Linked DNA regions of Homo sapiens: region 1 is linked to region 2. The links are contacts of gene promoters, found by promoter capture Hi-C in blood cells and fetal thymus (Javierre and others, 2016). All regions are on one chromosome and are shown on one strand. The core of a region is centred on a gene start or on the middle of the fragment in contact, and the rest is flanking DNA. Distances in the headings are between cores, read along the strand shown. Region 1 overlaps DENND3 (DENN domain containing 3). Region 2 holds the start of AGO2 (argonaute RISC catalytic component 2).

Region 1 (5,348 bases), core at 1-2,500, 550 kb after region 2:
CCAAGAAACCCAGGAACGCGATAGACCCTGGCTGAGTGAGCAGGCAGCGTCATCAGGGCCGCCCCGCGTGAGCCCTACCTGATGTGTCTAAGCCAGGCTCTGTGCTGACTTCGCCAGAGATGACTCCACAGACCAAGATACTTTGACCGTGGCATTTGAATACATGGTATTTTTAGGTCCCGGTTGGTTTCCCTGAAATGAAACTCACTCTGAGCTTCCTGTTGTGACGGGCGAGGAGTTCAGGCGGCTTCCCCTCCAGGAGCATCTCGAAGGCCTGCAGAGAGCGTGCAAAGCAGCCGTGGGGAATGGGGAAACCGCCTTTTCCTGTGGCTGCCGATTCTGGAAGGGGTGGCCGAGAAGCTGGTAGCCGAGCAGGGCTTTTGCAAGCCTTGTGAGATTGCAGGGACAAGAGGTGGGGTCAGGCCCCATCAAGAAGGGGGAGTCTTGTTATTCCCATTAGCTTGGGGCTGGGTCTCCGACAGGTTCCTAGGAGTTAGGAGAACCAGCCCTGAGGCCAGGCCACAGGTCAGCTCAGGCTCTGCCCATGGGGAGCGTGCCTCTCAGAGACGGCAGTGTCTCACCCATGGGAGCAACAGACCACTGGAATCGCACCCCAGAAAGACCGGGAGGCCTGCCCTTCTGGACTCAGGACGGAGGCAGCACTGCAGGGCGGGGGGTCGCTTGAATATCCTCAGGGGAAAGGTGAAACCTCGCCCCTTCACACTGCCCTGCGGTCAGGCCCAAGGGGGCCGAAACCTCAACGCGGTGGTAAAAGGCAAATGTGAACAATGAAAGCAAGCAGACTTCTAGGTGATAGGGTAGAAGAATATTTTCATGACTTTATGGTAAAGAAAAAAATGCATAAATTATATATAAAATACCATAAAGGAAAAGAATGTTGAATTTGACTATATTAAAAGCAATGACTTTATTATTTTTATTTTTTCTGAGACAGGGTCTGACTCTGTCACCCAGGTGCAGTGGCGCGATCACACCTCACTGCAACCTCTGCCTCCTGGGCTCTAGCGATCCTCCGCCCTCGGCCTCCTGATTAGCTGGACTGCAGGTGCACACCACTATGCCCAGCCAATTTTTGTATTTTTTTTTTTTTTTTTTGTAGAGATGGAGTTTTGCCGTATTGCTCAGGCTGGTCTTGAACTCCTGAGCTTGAGCAGTCTGCCGGTTTTGGACTCCAAAGCGCTGGGTTAGAGGCGTGAGCCACCACAACTGGCCAAAAGCAATGATTTTAAAAAGAAGACACTTTTTTTTTCCTCCTTTCAAATGAGCTGGTTTAATTCACGGTGACACAAAATTGAGGGTAGAAGACCAAAGAGCGCCCTCTGGCAGGCTCAGGTGGGAATGACGGGTGAGAAGCCACTGAAGACGTCCGGTGACACTGTCAGTTTTTTGTTTTGTTTTTTTTTTTTTTTAATTTAAAAAAAAAAAGAAAAGTTTATGCTTGAAAGTGCAACAGGCTCCAGGGCAACGCTCACTCTAGCTGAAGATGGCAAAAGCTGTCCTGGCGGGGGTGCAGGTGTTGAAACAGGAGTGGAGTCCAGGCCGCCACCGCCCAGGCAGAGGGAGCAGCGTGCTTTCCGCCAGGGGTCTTAGTTCCAGCTGTGGCTGGGCCTCCCTGCGGCCTGTGCTTTCGGCCCCTTGAGGTTCTGGTCTGTTTTGCTTTCTGCTGGAAGCCTCATCATCTCTGTCCCTCTCCTGGGCCTGCTTCTTGGGCTGTCTCAGAGGCTTCTTGCCATCTTCATGGCCGGACACGGCGCCTACAGCCTCTTCCCCAGACCCTGCCACAGGAAATGGACAGAAGACACTTTTGAGAGGGTGAAAATGTAAGCTGCAGACTGGGAAGGATCTTTAAAATGGGTGCTGCTAAAATCATTGCTTTTAATGTAGTCAGATTCACCAGTCTTTTGCTTTATGGTATTTTTATATGTCATACGTAATTTATGAATACAGCACCATGGAGTCAGTTAGGGGCTCATATCCAGAACACCGGAACAGCTGGCCGGGCGTGCCTGTGGTCCCAGTGAGGTGGGAGGGTGGCCAGAGCCCTGGACTCGGAGCCTGTGGTTTGCTGTGATCGCACCTGTGAACACTGCTGCACTCCAGCCCGGGCAACATGGCAAGACCTCGTCTATTAAAAAGTAAAAAAAAATAAAAATAAAAAAAAATAACAGCCACAAACTAGGGAGAACGAAAAACAGACACTTCCCACAAGAGGGCATGGGGATGGCCAGTTCAAGCCATCAGGCTCATTAGCAATTAGAGAAATGCAATTAAACCACAATTTAAAAGCCAAAAGCTCCACACCCTTAGAATGGCCGAAATTAAAAAGATGGACGGACGCCAGCAAGTGTTGGGAAAGACGCGGAGCCCGCTGCACATGAGGGTGTGGGGGGCACCATGGCCCCTGCCGCCGTCTCTCCAGCTGCCCTCCCTCCCTGCCTCCCTCCCTCTGTGTCCACCTGCTCCTCTTCCAGTTCCCTCTGCCTGGCTGTTTCCTCTAGTGAATGCTCACTCAGCTGGCAGGTCCTGGCTTAGCAAAGCTCACAGGCATTCGGCTCTGCATCTGCCTGCGGCTCTGACCCTGTCTTTGTGGCCCTCTCACCAGCCAGCTGCCCCCCTTGACTCTGAGCTCCCAGAGGGCAGGGAAGCCTCTGCCTGGGCACGTCTTTGTACGTACAGCACCTAACATGGGCCTGGCGCTTAGGAGGGCCCAGGAGGCACCTGAGTAAGGGCACCAGTCACCTGCTGCTACAGCAGAAGTGTTTCCTCCTAACAGTTTTGTGCTGCTCTCCTCTTTAGGGCATCTTGACCCAGCCGAAAAAGTTGAAGATGCTCACCCCAAGTTATGGTGTGCTCTGAGCGAAGGCAAGGTGACCGTGTTCAATGCTTCTTCATGGACCATCCACCAGCACTCCTTTAAAGTGGGCACTGCAAAAGTGGTGAGTACACGAAGCGTCAGGAAAGAAGCCTCTGAATTCACGTGATTTCTGAAACCCAAGTGTGTTCATCCATATTCGACAGTAGGATACAAGCTATTCCACAGCCTCACTCGGTTTCTGTAAACAGGGGGTCTTAACTTTCACCTGGAGTTTTCAAATTAAATGTAAGCTTGTTCCAAACTTCTACTTACACGTCCTTATTGAAGGAGAAGATAATGGCTTTGACTTTCTCATCTAAAAACAGATTTCAGGCCCCCATCTAAAAATAGATTGCAGGGGCTCACACCTCTAATCTCAGCACTTTGGGAGGCTGAGGTGGGTGGATTGCCTTGAGCCCAGGAGTTTGAGACCAGCCTGGGCAACAGAGTGAGACCCCATCTCTACAAAAACTACAAAAATTAGCCGGGCATGGTGGAGCGTGCCTGTAGTCCCAGTTACTTGGGAAGCTGAGGTGGTAGGATCGCTGAGCCTGGGAGGTCGAGGCTGCAGTGAGCCAAGATCGCGCCACTGCACTCCAGCCTGGGTGACAGAGCCATACCCTGTCTCAAACAGACAAATAATAATAATAATAAAATAATAAAAATCGACGTCAGTTCTGTGAAGTGGAGCCATTGTGGTCTCTGCCTGCTTATTACAGGCTTCACACACTTTGGGAACAATTTCCTTCTTTTTTTTCTTTTTTGAGACAGGGTCTTGCTCTGTTGCCCAGGCTGGAGTGCAGTGGTTCAGTCATGGCTCACTGCAGCCTCGACCTTCTGGGCTCAAGGGATCCACCTCGGTCTCCTGAGTAACTGGGACTACAGGTGCATGCTACCATGCCTGGCTAATTTTGTATTTTTTGTAGAGATGAGGTTTTGCCACGCTGCCCAGGCTGGGAACGATGTCTTCCATCCTGTACTGCAGCACTAAGGTTCCCAGGGACCAGGGCCTTAAAATGAACCTGCAGTGTTTCCTGGGAACCCTGGTGTTTCCTGGTGGCACAGTGGTTACTGGGTCTCTTTTGGAGCAAAAGAGGAGACAGCTGCCTCTGCAGTGACTTCAGTGTTATCCACCTGTCCCCACGTGCCAGGTGGCAGAGACCAGGGCCCAGCAAAACTCAGTGTCCACTCGTCACACATTATTCCTCTCACTTAGAGCAAGCTTGTCCAACCTGTGGCCTGCAGGCTGTACGTGGCCCAGGACGGCTTTGAATGAGGCCCAACACAAATTTGTAAACTTTCTTAAAACATATGTTGAGTTTTTTTTGCAATCTTTTTCCTTCTAGCTCATCAGCGATCGTTAATGTTAGTGTATTTTATGTGTGGCCCAAGACAATTCTTCTTCCACTGTGGCTCAGGGAAGCCACAAGAGTGCACACCCCTGATTTAAAGCAAGTTTGAATTGTTTCTGATAATTTTAAAACAAGTGCAACTGTTAATACATTTTTAGTAGTGTGTCCTTGGCAGTGCCATGGTGTGTCGCTTCTTCCATGACCATGGTATCTTGAGTGTGGAAGCTGGGATTCCTGCCCTGCTCATCCCTCCAGGCCCCCAGCGGCCCCTCCTGCCTGCAGACCATCATTTCTTGGGGATTTTCCCTGTTTGCCCGTCAGCGCTGTGAGCTGCCCCTCCCTGCGGATCTGTGTGCGCTTCCCTGTCGCCCGAGAGGCCGCTGAGTAGCTCCCCGTGCTCTGAGACCCCACACTCCCCCGCACCGTGGCCTGCGCGCCCTTTGTCCATGTTTCTCCTGTTCTTGCTCATGGATTTGCAGATGACGTTCACATTTAAATTGCATTTTATAGTTTTCAAAATATTTTCGCATCTACACTCTCCTCCTATCTGGTCACCCTCCAAGCAGCCACCCCATCATGGGATCTGCTGAGAAATCCTCATGCCTTACTCCTTGAGCATGATAGGATTTTTTTTTTTTTACATGTTTAATGTGAAAAGAACACTCCAGTGGAGTATATACCTAAGTATATATTAGGCATTGGCTGGTACCATTTTTTTTTTTTTGACAGGGTCCCTCTCCCATTGCCCGTGGCTGGAGTGTAGTGGCACAATCGCTGCTTACTGCAGCCTGGACCTCCCGAGTAGCTGGGGCTATATAGGTGCGCACCACCACACCCGGCTAATTTTTGTATTTTGAGTAGAGATGGGGTTTCACCGTGCTGCTCAGGCTGGTCTCAAACTCCTGGGCTCAAGCAGTCCTCCCGCCTCGGCCCCGCCAAAGTGCTGGGATTACAGGTGTGAGCCACTGCGCCCGGCCATGGTATCAGTTTTGATGGCTGTGTTCCCTTGTCTAAAAATAATGTGGGAAAATCCGTGGCACAGTATGTGCTTGCAAAACTGCTATAAAACAAATACTGTGAACTCAAATACATACCACCAAGAGGGTGGGACCACTCTTGAG
Region 2 (5,766 bases), core at 1,179-3,678:
TATAATTCTAAATTAGAAAGTATAAGATTAAAAAGAGTCTCAATGAAGACTATTCCAAAAATTCCTTTTACACAAAATTAAAAGCCTTAATGTGTAGCATAAAATGGAACTGCACCACAGACTTATAATTACAGCACGTTTGTACAACCTGAAACTTGGGTTCATTCCCATCCTGCCATTAGCTATGAATTATCCTGCAGACACATTTATTCTTTCAACCACTGTCCTGTTCCAGAGGGTCCACTCCCTACCAGGCCCACACCAAGGCAACAATCTCCAAAAAGCAGCGAGTGACAGAAACGAGCCTGTGGATCATGAGGGCCAAGGTACGCTGAAAAATGAAATCGACAAGACAGCATCCCGGGGCAGTGCACACAGTACAGCAGTGAGCTGGGGTGGCTTCCTGAAGCCCCGCTGTCAATGACAAGTATGCGGGCAGGTGCTGGTCCAGTCCAGCCCTAACAGAGACTTCTTACTGTGGGTCTGGGTTATAGGGCTTGAAAGGGACTGCCCTGAGGAAGGCACCCAGAGAACCAGCTCGGAAGTCGGACCGATTGTCCTGATACTCACTCACTGCTGTGTGACCTTGGTGAAGTTCTCAACCTCTGTGAGCCTCGGCTGTCTGTCTTCACAAACACCACCAACCTCAGCAAGTGGAGTGAATTAAGTAACACGCAAAACACAACACAGAAAGCTTGACCTTCCTTAAAGCCTCTTCACTTTTTCTGGGCCTCCAACTTTTAAAACCGATAACCTGAAAAAATGTAGTGCTGTCAGTCCCATAAGCTGGGTTCCTCTACAAAGAGGAGCTGGAAGGTCCCAACTCACAAGGGGATGCCCGGTCCTTTCCCAAGAGGGGGCCTGGCCACCCAAGGCCTCTAGAGGCCAGCACCTGCTCCAGGACTGCGGCCCCTCCCAGGTGGAGGGGGAAAATCATTCTTCAAACTGCTGATGGCCCTCAGGGGTTGAAAAGTTGGTCAGACTCCGCCTTGTTGAAGCTTTCTAAATGACATCAGAAAAAAGACGCGACATTCGCAAGGCACAGAGCCAACAGCTCCAGCAGTGGGGGCCACCATCAACGGACCAAGGTGGGCCAGGGGGCCTTCCGGACCCCACAATTTGGGGCCGGTCTGCAGCAACGAGGGCAGCATCGGGAATGCGAGCCTCCTCGCCCGGCCGGGTAAACATAAGCCCAGAGCCCGGCGGGGCCTGCGCCGCCTGCGGCCCGGCTGGGGCCCAGCGGACAAAGGGGAGCAGGCGGTGCCCCGTCCCAGCGGCCAGGCCGGCCGAGAGAGCCAGGAGCCACGTGCCCGGTGGGAGCACGCCAAAAGCAGGAGAACACCTGACCGTTTTTTTGGCCCACCAAGGAGACCGCCTTCTACTCTGCATTTAAAAAGAAAAACAACGCGTTACCGCTTTAAGTTTTTTAGAACTTTTCCAGAGAAAGGCCGACTAGCAACAAGGGGTGCTACAGGAATCCACCTCGCCTCACCTCTCCTAGGAAATTGTAAAAGGAATTAGCACTTGAATGGGGAGGCCGGCGTGTCTGGAATGAGAACGAGCCGCGCACGCAGTTTGAGGGTTCCGGGGAGCCGCGTCCTCCCCTTTCCAGGCGACAGCCCTAACTACAGGAATTGGCCAAAATTCAGCATTTCCAGACTTTCCTTGGGAAAAGGGGCCGAAGAAGTGCCGGCAACAAGAAGGGCCACAACGGAGCGCGCCACAGACTCACCGCGGCTGGGGTCGGGACCGGCGCAGCCCCCTCCCCTCCCGCCCGTGCGCGCCCCGAGCCGGGCGCCCCGACCCGGCCTCCACCCGCTCAGGCGCTCAGGGTCAGGCCGGGCCGGGCTGCGGCGCCCCCATCCCCGCCCGGGCAGCGAGGCCGGGCCAAGCGGGGCGCTCCGGGCCTCGGGCCTACACGCGGCGGCCGCCTCGGCCCCGGCCCCAGCCCGCGGGCCCCGGGCGGGGGATGCGAGGACGCTGGGACGCGGGCCCGAGGCGCGGGAGGGGCCCAGGCCGCGCGGGGCGCCCCGACGACTCGCGGGGGCCGAGGAGGCCGGGGCTGCGCGTCCAACGCGGGGCCGAGAAAACGGCCGGCTCGGCCCCGCCGCCGCCGCTCCTCGAGCCCCCAAGCGCGGCCCCGGCTCGCCCGCCCCCGGCCCCCGCCGCCCCGACCCCGCGGCCCCCCGATCCCCGGCCCCTGCCGCCCGCGCCGGGCCCGCCAACCACGGGCAGGAGCGCGCGAACGGCCGGGCGGGCGCCCCGAGCGCCAGGACTCACCGGGGCCGGCTCCCGAGTACATGGTGGCGCCGCCGAGGGGCTCCGGGGCCGAGGGGCGGCCGCGCGCGCGCCACGGGCCCCGACGCCGCGAGCCGCGAGGGAGCCGCCGGCCGCACGATCCGCCCCGGCGCGGCCGCCTCGCCAAACAGGTTTACCCGACGCGGCCGGGGCGGCGGGCGGAGGCGGCGGCGGGAGCGGGAGCGGGAGGGGCGGGGGAGGAAGGAGGAGGGAGGGGGAGGGGAGGCGAGGCCGGCGGCGGGAGCGCGCTCGCGGGGGGAGCGGGGCTGGGCGCGCGGGCGGGGTCCGCGGCGGCGGCGGCGGCGGCGCCGGGTCTGGCGGGGCCTGGGGCGGGGACCCGGGGAGGGGCCCGGAGACCTCGCCGGGCGGTGGGAACCGCGGGCGGGAGCGGGGACGAGGGCCGAGGGCGGCGCGGCCCGTGTGGCGCGGGGGCGGGCGCGGCCCCGGGGACCCTTCACTGCCACCCAGAGAAGCCGCGTCTTCCCGACGGGGAGGAGCCGGGCCCCCCGGCTGTGCCGCCGGAGCCGGAGGGGAGGCCACGCGCCCCCGCTTTCCCCGCCGCCCCCCGGTGGGGGGCGCAGAACCCTCCCACCCTCAGCCCCTCGGCCCCCAGCCTGGCTCTTTAAGTTACTACAGAAACACGGAGGTCGGGAAGCTCCCTCCCAGCCCGGAGCTTGAACTTGAACGCGGCCGGCCGCTCGCGCAGGACCACACCGCCACCTCCCGGCGCGGCCCCAGAACCCAGATAATCCGTTTAAAGCACTGAGAAAATCTAAGAAGTTTTTAGTAAACTGTAGCTGGTATCAGGGATCAGATCAGCGGACACGCCCATTCCAGCAGTCAGGGGCCTGCTCGGACCGTCGTGCACCTCCGAGCGTTTCTGTCCGGTCCCTCTGGGTCCGTCTGGTTTTCGGAGGCTTTCCTGGAAAAGCCAGCCTGTGGCTACCTCCTTTCTCCCCTAAGTGATGGAGGATTAGAAGGCAGAGGTTGACCCACAATCTAAAGTGCCTGGTCGCCTTTTCCCAGATTTCCCGGAGCATTCCTTCACCCCGTGGCATCGGCTGTCTGCATATGGGTGCAAGGCCCTGTTCCGGGCGGAGAATAAACAGGAGTTCTGACTGACAGGAGCTCCGCAGCCAGCAGGGTGGTCACTAGTTCTCTGCAGTCTCGGAGGACAGCCCTGAAGAAGGGCAGGAGAACCAGCACTTCCTCCGAAAACTCAAAAGGACATCAGTCTTCACCAAGTTGCCGATACAAAACGTGCTCCTGAAATGTGTAGTAATGAACACCAGGAAACCTGGGTAGGAGTGTGCATGGCATTCTTCATCACCGCTTGGACTGCATGGCACTGAATACCCACGGAGAGCAGGATGGAGAAACAGTGTGCTCATATTCACAGGATGGAATCTAGCCATTCACAAAAATTCCAAAACAGGCAAAATTAAACTGCATTCTTTAGGGAAGCATCATTAAGTAGTAAATAATTGACAGAAGGGCAAGAAGGTGCTTACTCTAAGTGTCAGAATGGTGGATACAGCTGGGGGTGAGAGGGCTGTGACCACAGCAGGGCCCCTGGGGGATTTGGGGGTGCCAGGCCTGTTCCTTCCTGCAATGGTGCCCTTTGGCAGCCATCCCTTAAACTGCACTTTTACTTTATATGCTTTTCTGTACCTTTACTGTAGTATTTCACGGAAATTTTTAAATAATCATGAATGTTACCACTTTCCTATTTATGAACCATGCAACCTCATCAATCTTCCCAGTTCGCAGATGCCCACCCTCTCTCTCTGCCCCTGTCTCCTTCACATATCCCCAAAACTCGTTTTGGCCCGAAATCCCTGAGGCCCAACTGCCCTGCTGTCAGCGACTGCACGCCTCAGCAAAGGCCCAGAAGGCTCTGTCATCACTGGCTGCCCTCAGCCCGCCTTCAGCTCCTTTGAGCGCTGTGTTGGGGAACTTTGTTGCAAGGATTTCGTTCCAGAAGGCAAGATAATGTCTCTGAGGGCTTCATTGTGTCACTTCTCTTTGGATGGCGGACACCGTGGCCCTCTGCTGGCGGAGGGGTGCCATTGCTGCCTGCCCCATCTCTATCCCCAGGGCCCATGCAGTCACTGGGTTCGCCCTCTGGGGCACGGGGTTCCCTCTGCTCTTTTCCTAGATAAGCCCATTCTCTGCAGGTCTCTACCCTCCACACCTGTGTTCAGGAATTCAGCCCGCTTCCTGCAGCCCCATCCCTACCCTCCTCCCAACCTGCTTTTCTTCTGGTGTCCCTCACTCAGCATGGCTAACAGATCCACCACCCAACGGAGCTGAGAACTGCAGTCCCCTCTGCCTGTTACCTCTCCTGCCATTAGTGAACCTGCTTAACTCATCTGACTGTGCGTCTCGGTGCTTGCTGTGACATGTCTCCAGCCCTTGCTGCTCTGTCCCCCAGACCCACGTCCCACACCCGGATGGTGACTCAGCCGACTCTGGGTCTTCTGGACCCAGTGCTTCTCCCTGATACAATTCCTTCCTCTGTGTTTTAGGATCCTGATGCTTTGATAAGACCGTGGGCTCTAATCACAGCCAGGGACATTTGCAGCAGCCTGGCCTGCAGCTCTGCACACTGGGTGCACTCAGTCTAAAGCACCAGCTCCCCATGAGAGAGAAAGAAGGGGTGAGGGGAAGTACAGAGAAAGCTCCTGAGGCCACAGGGCTGACAAAGCCCTCGGCTTTGGGGGCACTTTGTTTCTTCAAGACTAAAATGCAGGCAATGGAATAAATCATTTGTTCCTAAAACATGTTCTGCACATGATTAAAGCAGCTTTGGGAAGTCAAGTAAATTGGGAAGCACTGGATCAAACAATGATAAATAAGTTTATTGTCTGCAGGCCTTCTCAGAGCCTGTAGCAAGGTGAGAAGAATCATGCTTCTACAAAGAGGAAGGAGGGCATGAGACAGTATGCAACCTGTCCCAAACCCATTTAGCCACAGAACCCTTTTTTCACGAGGTACCTCAAGGTTCCGTGGAGCATAATTTAGGAAACACAGAGGTAGAGGTCTTCTATGATCCCTTCCAGCTCTAATAGTCTATGATTCTTTGAGTAATATATACTTTGAGACAGGATCACCAAAGTGAAAGTGTAGTGGCGAAAACACAGCTCATTGCAGCCTTGACTTCCCAGGCTCAAGTGATCCTCCCACCTCAGCCTCCTGAGCAGCTGGGACCACAGGTGCATGCCACCATGCCTGGCTAATTTTTAAAAACTTTTGTAGAGACAGGTCTCACTGTGTTGCTCAGGTTGGTCTTGAACTGCTTGGCCCAAGTGATCCTCCCACCTTGGCCTCCTCAAAGTGCTGGGATTACAGGCATGAGCCACTACACCTGACCTTATTTTTTTTGTTTTTGTATTTTTCTAGACAGGGTCTCACTCTATTGCCCATGCTGGAGTGCAGTGGTGCAATCATAGCTCACTGCAGCCTCCT

Evidence for each region. The method cuts DNA at HindIII sites, captures the fragments that hold promoters and counts their contacts. A CHiCAGO score of 5 or more calls a contact.
Region 1: a fragment that was not itself captured here is called in contact with the fragment with the promoter of AGO2 in region 2 in 1 of 17 cell types (total CD4 T cells); the score reaches 5.3 in total CD4 T cells.

Annotation. Positions count from the first base shown.
Region 1 is chr8:141,182,322-141,187,669 of GRCh38, forward strand. DENND3 (DENN domain containing 3) reads left to right here. Exons shown (of 23, transcript NM_001352890.3): 18 at 2,818-2,957. Among named protein-coding and RNA genes, the nearest start is that of DENND3-AS1, 55 kb to the left of the region's middle. RefSeq lists enhancers at 241-350, 1,111-1,160, 1,241-1,380, 2,081-3,035. The HindIII fragment of the contact is 3,747 bases long and covers 1-3,124 here.
Region 2 is chr8:140,633,205-140,638,970 of GRCh38, forward strand. It overlaps AGO2 (argonaute RISC catalytic component 2), which reads right to left and starts at 2,429. Exons shown (of 19, transcript NM_012154.5): 1 at 2,281-2,429. The coding sequence starts at 2,302. It overlaps ERICD (E2F1-regulated inhibitor of cell death), which reads left to right and starts at 1,031. Exons shown (of 1, transcript NR_170171.1): 1 at 1,031-5,079. RefSeq lists enhancers at 1-667, 668-1,434 and silencers at 1,241-1,290, 1,774-1,943, 2,594-2,993. The HindIII fragment of the contact is 24,992 bases long and covers 997-5,766 here.